Linked DNA regions of Homo sapiens: all the other regions are linked to region 2. Evidence: promoter capture Hi-C in 16 types of primary human blood cells and fetal thymus (Javierre and others, 2016). All regions are on one chromosome and are shown on one strand. Each heading gives the region's core, a stretch centred on a gene start or on the middle of the fragment in contact. The rest is flanking DNA. Distances are from core to core; before and after follow the strand shown.

Region 1 (4,575 bases), core at 515-3,014, 360 kb after region 2:
GAGGTTTGACTGCAGTGCACTCTACAGAATCAGTTTTCTAGGGTGAGCACATAGCTTGCTCAGTGAACCCCAGGCCGCTCTGTGTAAATGTATGTAACAGGCAATGAAAGTTCCTTCTTCACATATTGTTACTACACATCTGTTGCTAAAAGGGAAATGACAGAGCGACGTGACAGACTCATCTCCATCTACAAACTATGGAAGATGTAGATGACTGACACAGTTCTAACTCCTAACACACACGGATTTTGCCTTTCATGGATTTATACTGTATGTAGATGTACATTACCACCCTTTTCACTCCTCCTTGCAACTCCCCGTCAACCTCGTAAAAAAAGACGAATTGTCTAGCAATGCAAAGAAACAGTATGGTGTACAACAAATAATTCCGGGCTAAAAATGAAGAAATCGCGCTTTCACTCTCGGCTCTGTTATTAACAAGCTGTATAACTTTCGGCCTATCTCCCCCATCATGCTTCGGTTTAAGCTAAAAGGAGGGAGATGACCAAGATGGCTTTGCTCTGCTTCTGACACCAAATGACCGCCAGCAGATTCAGGAAGCTTAAGAATTACCAACTCCGTGTGTGTGTGTTCTAAAATTAATGCAACAGGTGTTGCTGCCTCCAGCAGGCGTCACCGATTCAGAATGTCTGGGTTCTCGCAGGCCCTTATGGGACACAGAACAGCACAACCTATGTGAAAACTGTAAACTTTAGTCTGGTGAGTGCATACTTCTCCCTTCCACATTTATACTAACCTCAGCTCCGTGGGCTACGAAGCTCGTTCTTCAAATGAGGTGGAGAAATGTAAGCGCGATGAATGAGGCCCAAGTCGCTGGTGGCGCTGAACCCCCAAAAGATACACACCGCGACAGATGCAACGACCCCTCACCTCTACTCCCGTTCCCAGCCGCATCCTCTGAAACCTGATACGCCTGCCTGCCTACCAGGACGCTGCTGTCACTGGCTCTGCTCGGTGGCCAGAGACAGTACTCACTCCATGCGGCCACCCCTCCAACGTCCCACCTTCCTAGTAAATCCACTCTCTTTCCGGCGGAAAAGCCCTTCTCGTTTCCTGCGCGTGAGAGGAAGTCCCGCCCCACGCACCAGCGTGACATTACTGGAAGCGCCGAGGAGCTTCGCGCAGGCTCAGAATCGCTCAGCTGGTTGACGTTATCCAGGAGAATCGCGTTGGACTCAGGGAAGACCTGCACAGGATCCGGTTGTTGCTGGGTCCGAGGGCTGTAGGGAGTGGAGAAAGGGCCGGGAATCGTTAAGCGGGGTCTGGGAGAACGACTTGCAGATTCACATTTCCTCCGCCCGCGGATGTCCTCCGGGGAATTGAGGCTTCCTTCCTCAGCTGCCCTTGTTTCTCTCTTTGCTCCCGCTGCCCCTTGTTCTATTTCGTTTCTTACTATTTATGTAGTCTCATTGCTTGCGGTTATAATGGCCACCACTTTATTGAGCATTCACTGTACAAGCATCTCGCAGCAGGCGCTCATAAGCGTCTGGCAATTCTTGGCCACTGCTGGAAGCCCAATCATTCTTTTACCATGGAAGGGATTTGAGAGCCTACATAATCCTGTACTCTAATAGCCACATGGTACTCTTGGGGCTAGGAAGATAAAGTAGAAATTGAAATTGCTGTTGTATTAGTTTTCTGAAGCTGCCATAACCAAGTACCTCACACTGGATAGCTTAAAACAACAGATATATTTTCTCGCTTTCTGGAGTCTGGAAGTCAGAAATCAAGATGTCAGTGGGGTCTTGCTTCTTCTGAGACTCTGGATAGAATCCTTCCTGCCTCTTCCTAGCTTCTAGTGGGAGCCAGCAATCATTGGTGTACTTTCGCTTGTAGCTGCATTACTCCATTCTCTTCCTCTGTTATCAAATGGTATACTCCCTGTGTGTCTCTGTCTCTGTGTGTTTTATAAGGACACCAGTCCTGTTAGGTAAAAGGCTCACCTTACTCCAGTATGACCTGATCATGACTAATCACATCTGCAATGACACTCTTTCCAAATAAGGTCACATTTTGAGGTTCCAGGAAGGACATGAATTTTGGGGGCGACACTAACCAACCCAGTACAGCTGTTAAAGTTCTCAAGAAGTAGACAAACGAAGAGTTGACAAATAAATGTAGTACAAGTGGATTCAAATTTAGTTCAGTTTTATCTGAGTGTTCATAGACATTCGGAGTATCCCTTTAAAGGATGGGTAGGGGCCGGGCGTGGTGGCTCACGCCTGTAGTCCCAGCCCCTTGGGAGGCCGAGGTGGGCGGATCAGCTGAGGTCAGGAGTTTGAGCCCAGCCTGGCCAACATGGCGAGACTCCGCCTCTACTAAAAATACAAAAATTAGCCGGGCGTGGTGACAGGTGCCTGTAGTTCCAGCTACTTGGGAGGCTGAGGCAGGAGAATCGCTTGATCACAGGAGGTGGAGGTTGCAGTGAGCTGAGATGGCACCGTTGCACTCCAACCTGGGTGACGAGCGAAAATCCATCTCAAAAAAAAAAAAAATTAGTTACGAAAGATTCTCTCTACTTCTATCTTTTGAAAGAGACTATAGATAATTTGCATAATTTCTTCCTTAAATGTTTCATAGAATTCACCAGTTAGACCATCTGGACCTGGTACTTTCTGTTTCTGAAAGTTATCAATTATTGATTCCATTTAAAAAATAGATATAGGCCTATTCAGATTGTTTCTTCTTGTGTGAGTTTTGCCAGATCGTATCTTTCAAGAAATTGGTCCATTTCATTTAGGCTATCAAATTTATGAGCGTAGAGTTTTTTTCTTGTTTTTGTTTTTGGGCATAGAGTTTTTATCACCCTTTTAATCTTCATGGGATCTGTAGTGATGTTCCCCTCTTTCATTTCTAATATTAGTAATTTATGCCTTCTCAATTGTTTTTATAGTTAGATTACTAGAAGTGTTTTGCTTTTATTGCTCTTTTTCAAGAACAAGCTTTTTGGTTTCAATGATTTTCTCTATTTTCTGTTTTAAATTTCATTGATTTCTGCTCTAATTTTTATTATTTGTTTTCTTCTACTTACTTTGTATTTAATTAACTCTTCTTTTTCTGTTTTCCTAAGGTGAAAGCTAAAATTGATTTTAGATCTTTCATTTTTTCTAATATATGCATTCAATGGTGTTAATTTCCCTCTAATCACTGTTTTAACTGCTTCCCACAAATTTTGATTATATTTTCACTTTCATTTAATTCAAAATATTTTTAAATTTCTCTTGAAATTTCTTCTTTGGCTCATATGTAAATTAGAAGTATATTGTTTAATCTCCAAATATTTTGGGATTTCTAGGTTATTTTTCCATTATTGATTTCTAGTTAAATTCCATTGTTGTCTGAGAGCAGGCATTGTATAATTTCTATTCTCCTAAGTGGGTTAAAGTGTATTTTATGGCCCAAAATGTAGTCTCTCCTAGTGAATGTTCCCTATGAGCTTAAGAAAAATGTGTATTTTGCTGTTGTTAAATGAAGTCGTCTACAGATGTCAATATTATTCAGTTGATTGATGGTGTTGTTGAGTTCAACTGTGTCTTTACTGATTTTCTTTGTGCTGGATCTGTTTATTTCTGATAGCAATATGTTGAAATCTCCAACTATGACAATGGATTCATCTGTTTTTCTTTGCAGTTCTATCAGTTTTTACCTCACATATTTTGATATTATGTTGCTAGTCACATACACTTTAAGGACTGTTATGTCTTCTTGGAGAAATAACTTCTTAATCATTACATAATGCTTCTCTTTATCCCTGATAACTCTTTTTTTTTTTTTTTTTGACAGTGTCTTACTCTATTGCTCAGGCTGGAATGCAGTGGTGCAATCACAGCTCATGGCTCATTACAGCCTTGACTTCTGGGGTCTGGTGATCCCCCTACCTCAGCCTCCCGAGTAGCTGGCACCACAGGCATGCGCCACCATGCTCGGCTAATTTTTGTATTTTTGTTAGAGATGGGGTTTTACCATGTTGCCCAGGCTGGTCTTGAACTCCTGAGCTCAAGTGACTCACCTGCCTTGTCTTCCCAAAGTGCTGAGATTACAGGCCTGACCCACTGTGGCCGGCCTATCCCTGATAACTTTTCCTTCATTGAATTCTGCTCTGTCTGAAATTAATATAGCTATTCCTGCTTTCTTTCTCTCTCTCTCTCTCTCTCCCCGCCCCCCTTCTTTCTTTTTTGAGACGGAGTCTCGCTCTGTCACCCAGGCTGGAGTGCAGTGGCACGATCTGGCTCACTGCAAGCTCCGCCTCCCAGGTTCACGCCATTCTCCTGCCTCAGCCTCCCGAGCAGCTGGGACTACAGGCGCCTGCCACCACGCCCGGCTAATTTTTTGTATTTTGTTTAGCAGAGACGGGGTTTCACTGTGTTAGCCAGGATGGTCTCGATCTCCTGACCTCGTGATCTGCCCGCCTCGGCCTCCCAAAGTGCTGGGATTACAGGCGTGAGCCACCATGCCCGGCCTCTTTCTTTTATTTATTTATTTATTTATTTTACTTGACATGGACTGCCTGAACATCCCACTGCTTTCTTTTGATTAGTGTTAACATGGTATATC
Region 2 (4,383 bases), core at 1,755-4,254:
TAATGGTGAACAGCCTGAGGCAGGTGGTGGTCAGGTGACAACTCCAGTCTTCACTCCTACCAAGGGCCTGCACTCACTGCCAGCAGGATCGCGTGGTTGGTGCTCTTCTGGAGCAGGACAGAGCAGTGTGAACTGGTTCACAGCGTCCTCTCATGCTCTTAGCTCCAGGAGAGGAGGGAAGAATGAAGGGAAACTAGGGCAGCAGATTGTCTCTGACTCTTGGCACTGTCCCCAGAGACCCTCCTACAACAGCCAAGTGCAGGACCTGCTCACCACAGGAAGAAACAGGTCCTGCAGGGACTCAGGGACAGGTAAGGGCTGCGACTAACCCCAGGATGAGAAAGTTGCTAGTCTTGGGGGGTGGGAAGGGCTGCTGATGCCCTTCTATGAACAGACACCTACTGAGAGGGGACATGCAAGGATGAGTGTGAGCAGTGTGTCTCTCTCAGTGAGAGAGGGAGACAGAACACGCTCAATCCTTTCCTGACCTCTCAATCTAATTTTCTTTTTCTGGTTTTCAGAGTTGCATAAAAGGTTTGGTGGGAAGGAAACTCGATTCAACAAAGTCAAACATACCTGAGTGCCTACGATGCACACGGCGCTGGCCTGGGCAGGACAGTACAGAGGGGTGAGCTATAGCCGGGGCAGGTAAGTTCTTACCACAGGAAAGTAACTCTCGGGAGAAAGGTGCAAACAAGGGACTGAGGGAGCTCAAAGGAGAGAGAGGGAGGGTCTGCAGAAGGTAGAAGTGGCCATAAAGTCCAGGTGCGGCTTCAACAGTCTGCGATAGGAGGAAGGCAGCATCCCTGTCAGGGAGCAGCAGGAGTCCGGGCTAGAGGCTGGAGAGGAGGAGGAATGGTCAAGGAGCAAAGGCAGGCTGGTGCGGCAGGAGCACTAGTGCGTGGGCTGGGACTGGGGGGCCGAGGCCGAGAAACACGCAGCGGGGCTGGGCAGCGAGACTTGCACCGGAGCCTTTGCCACAGTCCAGGTCAGAAAGGGCCAGTGCCAGGGAGAACTGAAAGGAGGGAACAGACACTAGAGCCCCAGGACTTATGGGGAAGCAGACAGTAGGAGGAAGGGAGTGGAGAAAGAAGAGAGGAATCAAAGGCCACGGGGGTTTTAACCTGCAAGAGGACAGGAAGAATGGCTGACACTAATTATTCAAAATGCTGTAGTGCTTGCCAGTGCGCTCCATCATGCACAGCAATACATAGTTCAGTCTGTATTCAGTAAATGCCATCACCATCTTCCCAGTGGCTGAGGCCAAAACCTAGGGCTCATCCTCAAATCCTCTGCTGCCATGCAACCCTCTTCAGTAAGCCCCATCTGTTCACCTTCCAAAATACCTACTACGCCCATCCAATTCCTTCCCCTGCACTGCTCCATTTTCCTGCCCGACAGGCTCCATTCCCAGATCTTCCCATAGCTCAAGTGTTACCTCCTCCTAGAAGCCTTCCCTGGCCACCAGCCCCCTCCCCAGTCACCCTATTTTATTATCTTCATAGCATGTCACTATCGATGTATTAATGTTTGTTGATGTCTATCTCATTACCTGCCTCCACAGCCTCTTCTGGCTTGTTCATAGCTATGTCACCAACACTTGGAACAGTGCCAAACACACAGTAGGCACTCAGTATATCTTCACTGAACTACCCGTAATGCCATTTTTTGGAGCACAGGGTCCCCCATGCACTATATTGACAGGCATGTAATATTCGGTGGCCCAGAGCAGCTGCCTCCAGGGGATGCCTCCAGAGACTGGGCCAGACCAAGGGTAGACACTGCTGGTGCCTGGTGAGCACTCAGTGTGGGTGCTGCCTGTATCAGGCGGCCAGGCAGCTGGAGAGGAGGAAGTTACCACCCTATGTACAGACACTCCACGGCCTGACCAGCTGAAGGGGGTTTGCAGCCTACAGACTGATGCAATTTCCTTAGCACCAACAGCTGAGAGACATAGCAGGTTACTTCCTCCTCCCTCCAGACAGCAACCAACATCAGCAGGAACAGAGGCTGGCGCCTGTCCCAACACCCGGCGACCCTCAGGCCTTCAGCTGCCGGCTGCAGGTTAGTCCGTGATCCCTGCAGTGGAGTGGGAGGCAGGGCTTCGAACCCAAGCCCTGTCCCCCTCCATCAGCCCCACCCATTTCCTTCACATTGAAGTGTTCTGCCTCTGCTGCCTGTCCCCATCCTACCCCAGCGCAGGCACTGGGAAGCACTTCTCCATTCACAACGCCCCTTCACAAAGAGGTCTCGGTGGAACCTTACAATAGGACGCACACAAAGTCCACTTGACCGGAAAACCGAGGCCAGACCACACCGTCAGTGCCAAACACCGTCAGGCCAGACACCGTCAGTGCCAAAGCCAGGCCTAGAACCCACGTCTCTGCCTGTTGGTTCCGGGCTATTTCTGCTAGTCATTCACAACAGTTTCTAAAATTAATAAGAAATGATAAGTATGCGAAAGTCCATACATGGAAACGTTCCCGTGAGATGCAAAAAGAACAAGGCACAAACGAGCTGACACGGCCAGGTTCGTAGTGTCCGTGTTTGTTCCGCTCCCCACCGGCCCCTGGGCCCCTCCAGGGCAGGGGCATGGCCGTATTGACGCCTGTGACCCCGGGCACCTGGCGCGGTGCTGGCACCAACATCCCGAAATGCGCCAGCCTGGGCACCTCAGGGCCCGGCTCCAAGACCCGGCCCGTGCGACCCCTGGGGCGCCCCCCTAGTCTGGCCAGGCGCGGGGAGCCCCTGCGGCCACGAACCTCTGTCCCGCGGCGGACGGTCCCAGCCCCCTCGGAAAAGTTGCGAGGCTCCCGTCGCGGCGAGCCAACTCCCGCCGCCCCTCGGCGCGACCCCCGCCGCGCCGGCTCACTCACTCATGCTGGGCCGCCAGGTGGTTGAAGACATAGGTGACCGGGATGGCCGAGAGGGACAGCACGAAGACCCCGGTGGCCGCAGAGGCACTCATCGCAGCCGCCGCGCCGCTCGCCCTTCACCGCATCCCGCTGGGCGCCCCGCCCCAGCTTCCGGCGGCGCCCGCGCCCCCTTGGCGCTTGCCCTTCGAGGCGCCTCAGCCGCGCCCCCCGCGTGGCGCCCTCAGCGGCGTCCCCTCAGCGGTGTCTCCTCCGCGCGCCCTCCCAGCCCGCAGCCGTCCCCCGCGCCTGGCCCCGTCGCCCCAAGTGCGCAGGGCCGCGGTGCAGTCCCGGGAGGCGTCCTTGCAGTGCTCCTGCCAGGGGCGCCACGGCTCAGCGGCAAGCGCCCGGCGGCGCCGAGGGGCGGCGACACCCCCGCGCAGGGACAGGTGCCCCTGGCGGCGCGCGCTCCGAGGGAGGGCCCGGGGCACGGCCGGGAACCGGTCATCGAAGAGCTGGAGAGGCGCGGGGCTGAGCTGCGGTCCGGGAAAGGTGGAACCAGATCCGAGGGTGTCAGAGGAGGAAGGGCCCGCGGGATCGTCTATGGGGGAGCCCACGGCCCAGAAGTGGGAAAGGACAAAATGCCCCTGAAACCTCGGAACCTCTCCGCTCCAGTAGCCATCGGCGGGCTGCTGCACGGAGCCGGCATCCGGTTTTTAAACCTGGCTCTCCAGTCACCAGCTGTTGACTTTGGTCAAATTACTTAACCTCTCTGTCTTTTCCCTTATCTGGGAAATGGGGATAACACACTTCATAGTGTGACTGTGGGGTTAACTGAGTTCATACCTACGAAGCGCGTTATCCTGTGCTGCTCACTACACCACCTCCTGCGATTCTTTTTTTTTTTTTTTCTTTAATTGAAATGGACATAAATGCTGAGACTCTAAGAGACTAGAGCGCCATTCATTGCTATTCCAGGAAGCATTCCTGGAGGCCAGGTGCCCACCAGCCAGCCTGCATTGGGCCCTGCAGGGTACAAAGACTGGAAGATAAGCCTCTTCCTCTGAATGATAGATGCCTACGGGTATGGAAAATATTGTGTGTCAAGTGTTGTGGCTATCTGAAGGGCAGTGAGTTCCAGGAGAACAGCTCAAGCAACTGAGGGAGGTACCGGCATGTACTTACTGTCTTTACAACTTCCAGGGAATTTAAGAGACCATTTATGTGTTTTTGCTGTTGCCATTTGAGGGGTTTATTTTATTTATTTATTTATTTATTTATTTATTATTTTTATTTTTTTTTTTTTTTGAGACAGAGTCTCGCTCTGTCACCCAGGCTGGAGTGCAGTGGTGCAATCTTGGCTCACTGCAAGCTCCACCTCCCGGGGTTCACGCCATTCTGCCTCAGCCTCCAGAGTAGCTGGGACTACAGGTGCCCGCCACCGCGCCGGGCTAATTTTTTGTATTTTTAGTAGAGACGGGGTTTCACCGTGGTCTTGATCTCCTGACCTCGTGATCCGCCCGCCTCGGCC
Region 3 (4,898 bases), core at 1,503-4,002, 260 kb after region 2:
CAATGTCTGGCACAAAGTAGGTGCTTAATAAATATTTGTTCAATTAAATGTGTACACAGAATTTAGTGTTTTAATCAAACCCCACAGCAGAGCTGGGACCCTGTCGAATGATGCACCATCTTTGCTGTGCTGGGTAGTTAACAGACATGAATACCACTGTCTGGTCAAACCCAAGCTGGGGCTCGGGTGGCCCTGGGGCAGGGAGGGAGAAGGGGAAGCAGCAGGAGCTGGTCTCAGGCCCCTGGAGCCCATCCGTGATGCTCTGCCCCTGGGGCTCTCCAGACCCTCGAATCACCTTCTCCCCTAGGAATGGTGACCCAGGGATTCCAGGTATAGGGGCTGCCCAGGGCTTGGTACCTAGGGTAGGATTGTCTTATGGGTCTGGACAGCTGGGAAGAAATCACAGGCATTTCGGGGGGAGAGAGCAGCTCAGCTGACAAGCCTTGGCCCTCATGACAGAGGTGTTCCACCCAGCTCTGCGTCCTGCCTTTTTCAGTTTCTCCTAGGGAAGGGACTGCAGCCATAAACCTCTCCTCTCTCACAGAGCTGCTCAGTGGGGCCAGCGGGCCTGTGGGTGCTGTTGGCATCCTGCCCTGGGAGATTGCCCGTGTGTGGCAATAATGGCTTGAATCCCTGGCCCCACACATCTCTAAATGCCTTGAGCAGGGGGGAGGCTTTGGTGCCCCCTCACCCCTTTGAGAACCACCTAAGAGGACTACTCCTTCTAGAAACCTTCTCCCATGGACGTGGTTAGACTTTCTCCCTGCTGAATTTGGATTAATGAGCAAACAACCCGAGGAAGGAGGGAGATGGGGTCCGAACCCAGGTGCCCTGGGCCCCAAGGTGAACACGAGTCCTCCTGCTCTCCTTCCCTTCCCCTCACGGAGACGCCTCTCTGAGCTGGGGAGTCTTGTTTGGGATGTGGATGGAAGGGAAGGCTGGGCATCTGGAGCACCAAGGCACTTTTAGAGGAGCTCCCGCAAGGTGAGTGGGGGCTTTGGTTGAGTACATAGGGCTTTTGGCAGACAGGAAGTGGAAAGCGTGGCCAGCCATCTTTGTGATTCGGGGTAGTCTGCTGCTGGCCCTTCCCTTTCCCCAGAGCTCCAGACGGCTCTCAGGACAGTTGGTAGCAGCTCCCTCCTGGCTGCACCAGGAGACCAGAGAGCCGAGCTGGCTATGAGTCAGCCCCGTGGCCCAGCAGCGGGATAAGGGGATTCTCAAGCCAGCCTGGTCTGCCCAGCAGCAGGCTGGGTGTGTGGCTGCCTGGGAGCAGTGGACACTGGGTTCCAAACACCTTCCGCTGGGGTCTTCAGATGACCTCTGCCTTTATCAGGTGACTTATGAATCTAGAAAGAGCCCGCTTGACTGACAAGAGAATGCTCAGGTGACATGCATAGAATAGTTACTGAAGCCACTTGTACATTCTGATAGCAGTGACTTTAGAAAACTCCAGAAGTGGAGGTGTAGAAAATGTTGGAAGAGCCATTTCCACAGTGGGCTGCTGTGCAGTTGAGACCCATGATCCCAGTTCACCAAGCACTGAAGAGTGTGGTGAGCATCCTGTGGGCAGCAGGTGAGGAACTTGGATTCCTCCTGCTGTGTGTCCAGCTCTACAGCTGTTGCAACCCTGGAGCTAAGAGTAGTAAGGACTCCCTTAAAGGGAAAGGTAAGTTGGGCTTGGCCGTGAAAGCACAACAGCTTTTACAAAAGCACTGAACTTTCCATTCCTTCTGCTTTTCTCTGAAGATCTCAGTGTCTTTTCATTTACTTTCTTTTAAAATAGTGGCCCTGGAGCAACCTGGACGGTGTTCCCTTGAGCTGGTGTGACGTGCCCTCGTTTATTCTGACATCCAGCCCAGTCTCAGTACTGTTGTCATAACCTTACGCCAGACTCAGGCAGAATGTAAGCCATTCACTCGTGAGCATCGCAGCCGCTTGTGCTGCCTGGAAGCTGCAGGGCCAGGACTGCATTTTCAGTTTGCAATTGAGGTCTCCTGATTTTGGTGTTTCCAAGACTGGCTGCTATACCTTGATAAGCTTTCCTTCTGCCTCCATGAAACCTGGTGTCTAAAAAAGATCAACTAAAACTTGGAACCCTTTAACCAAGAGGACCTTTAAAAATAACCTTTCATTCCAGTCAAGACCCAGCTGGATGCATTTTAAAGTTGGGAGTGGCGAGGAAGCCTTCCTAGTGCCGCCCGGGGAATGTAAAACCACCAGAGCAACAGGTTGGGACAGTATGGTCAGGCCTTGGAGGGAAAGAGAACCAGTATCCACACAAGACCTCGAACTTGTGTGGCCCCTCAGTTTCATCTCTCCTGCCTGCCATCACATTAGACTTTAATTGGGTGAGAGAACAGGGCAGAGACTGTCACCTGCATTTTGCAGATGGGAAGTAGAGACAGAGAAAGTGACACGCCCAGGGTCACCCAGCGGTGACCAGCAGCGTGGACTCTGCATCCAGGTCTCCTGGACCTTGATGCAGTATCTTTTGAGACATGCCACTCTAGTCCCTTTGGTGACCCGTGGGTGCCAAGAGAAAATAATTCTTATATCCTGATAAGAGCATATTACAATTATATTATTTCAATATGTGTCCACAGCAAAGGACAGTTTACAAAAATGTGAATCCGAATGACATTTAGGAATGTTTGTTATAAATGATAAGTTCCACTTTGGAATGATTCTGGTTTTGCAGGAATCTTTCCAAGAAAGTTGGTTAAAATGATGTCTCTGCCTGTGAGGCCAGTTCTATGGAAAACAAACACACCCTGAGTTCTTTATTGATGGCTTTAGTGGAGGCAGAGCAGTATGTTCAAAACAAGTGGGAGGCCCTGAGATCGCAGGAATGGAAACAGAGTTCTGGCTGGGGGTGGCCTGTCCACTGCCCGCCCCTTCCTGGAGATGCACTCCTTTCTGGCTTTCTGGGGAGGGAGCAGCCTTGCTCAGTGGTGGGAGCAGCTTGAACGGGACCTGATCAACACCCAGGAAGACTGTGCACAGAGGGCAGTTGGTCTCCAGCCTGCAGGCTCCATGAGCACAGCCTTGATGGTGGTGGGCAGGCGCCTGCCTGCTGTGGACTACATTTGATGCAAAACATCAAGTAAAGGGTGGAGCGTAATACAGTGAATATGCCTCCCAGAAACATCATGCTCTGCCTATTTTAACAGGGCTCTTTTTCTTTAGAAAAGTCTCCTTCTCTATAGAAACCAGGGACAATTTTGGATGAGAGCCAACCACAGGACGCGCTGGGGACGTTATGGTGGGACCTCACATGTGGCCAGGTGCACCTTTGGGAAGAAGGCAGACGTGATGTGACTTAGCACAGGCACTCAAAAGAGGCAGCCACTGGTCTTTGCTAATATCCAGAAGTGGATTGTTTGTTCCATTCATCCTTCTAGAAGCTAAATTCTTTCATTGCCTTGAGACATCACTAGATTTTGAAGCACTTGCAAACTAGAAGCTTGCAAGATCAATGTCCATGTATATTTTTAAAGATATGCATGCTTTAAAAGGACCCTAATTTCTGAGTACATGGCTTCCCCAAAGAAACAGTATATATTCTGGAGATGATGGGGGTTTTGGCATGGAGAGGGACTCCTGTCTAGTCTAGAAAATGTTACTTACATGCCTCTTCCATGTACCGATCTCAAGAATATGGGTTTTCTAGTTGGCTTTAAACACTACCCAGGCAGGAAGGTGGCTTTGGTAAGAATTTTGAGCTGGATGAAATGTTCTAGTGAACTTACGACTGTGTATGTGCGCACGCGTGTGTGTGTGTGTGTGTGTGTGTGTGTGTGTGTGTGTGTGTGAAGAAACAGCAAAAGGGGAAGTGGGAGAAACAGTAAGGAAGCGTTTTTAATTAAAAATATGTATACCTAAGAGGAGACTTTATTTTCTATTTCTGGTGGTGGTGATCTATGTTCTGGAATCCATTTACCAGAAGTTTGTGGATCTTTTGTTTGAAGTGGAATTGTTCAGTGCCCTACTCTCTTTGACGGTGCAGAGCCTTGCGGCAAAGTGTTCTCCTGGGCCCTAGAGACCCCCAGGGCACCTGGCAGGAGCCCGTAAACCACGGCAGAGTCCCAAGTGGTGCATGTTTTGGCGAGTGATGGGCAGGACTGATGATTCACAGCTGTGAGGCTGTGCTATTGTTTTTACCCTCTTGTACTGCTTTTAATAGGAAGTCCCGACTTTACGTCAGTTGTGAGAGCAGCGTCTTATGATGTGACAGGCAAGAAGACATTCCTTGCATCAAATATAAGAGTTTAATGAGAAGAGTGGAGTGGATAAGTGAACTCTCCCAAGAGTACTGTTTTTTGTTTCCCTTTTTAAATGCTTTCTTGGTACATAAATAATATAATACTTTTTTTAAAGAAATTCCAGATGAGTGGGAAAAAAACCAATCACCTGTTATTACACTATCTGATTATAACCACTGTTAACATTTCAGTTTTTATCTTTTCAGACTTTTTTCTATGCATCTGTGTGTGTTTTATTACTTTTTCCATGAAATATAATCATATTATACATACTGTTTTATAACTTTTATCCCTTTTAATGCTATATTGTGAATAGATTTCTATATCAGTAAATATGTAATTACATTATTTTTAACCTCTATGTAGGTTGTACCTTGGATACTTAGGTTGTTTCCAATTTTTTTACTGTTGTAGTCAAGGACATAATGAAGTTCTTCTAACATCCTTGCGAACTTTTCAGAATATTGACTTAGGGTAATTTTCTGAAGTTATCACTGGCTCAAAAGTACGCGCCTCCCTATCTGCGGCTCCTTTCCTTCTGAGGCATACAGGACTTCACCCTCCATCCCCCTTGTACTCATTCAGGGTCCTATGACTAATTCTGGCCAATGAAATGTGAGCACAGGTGACACATGA

The links. The method cuts DNA at HindIII sites, captures the fragments that hold promoters and counts their contacts. A CHiCAGO score of 5 or more calls a contact.
Region 1: a contact is called between a fragment that was not itself captured here and the fragment with the promoter of TM6SF1 in region 2, in 1 of 17 cell types (megakaryocytes). The highest score is 5.8, in megakaryocytes.
Region 3: a fragment that was not itself captured here is called in contact with the fragment with the promoter of TM6SF1 in region 2 in 3 of 17 cell types (M0 macrophages, M1 macrophages and M2 macrophages); the score reaches 8.8 in M0 macrophages.

Annotation. Positions count from the first base shown.
Region 1 is chr15:82,747,031-82,751,605 of GRCh38, reverse strand. SNHG21 (small nucleolar RNA host gene 21) reads right to left here and starts at 1,042. Exons shown (of 3, transcript NR_110098.1): 1 at 758-1,042. RefSeq lists enhancers at 869-938, 1,229-1,358. The HindIII fragment of the contact is 2,402 bases long and covers 564-2,965 here.
Region 2 is chr15:83,106,266-83,110,648 of GRCh38, reverse strand. It overlaps TM6SF1 (transmembrane 6 superfamily member 1), which reads right to left and starts at 3,004. Exons shown (of 10, transcript NM_023003.5): 1 at 2,877-3,004. The coding sequence starts at 2,968. RefSeq lists silencers at 2,947-3,066, 3,097-3,376. The HindIII fragment of the contact is 11,695 bases long and covers 1-4,383 here.
Region 3 is chr15:82,844,133-82,849,030 of GRCh38, reverse strand. HOMER2 (homer scaffold protein 2) reads left to right here. Exons shown (of 9, transcript NM_004839.4): 9 at 1-48. Among named protein-coding and RNA genes, the nearest start is that of WHAMM, 37 kb to the right of the region's middle. The HindIII fragment of the contact is 1,426 bases long and covers 2,040-3,465 here.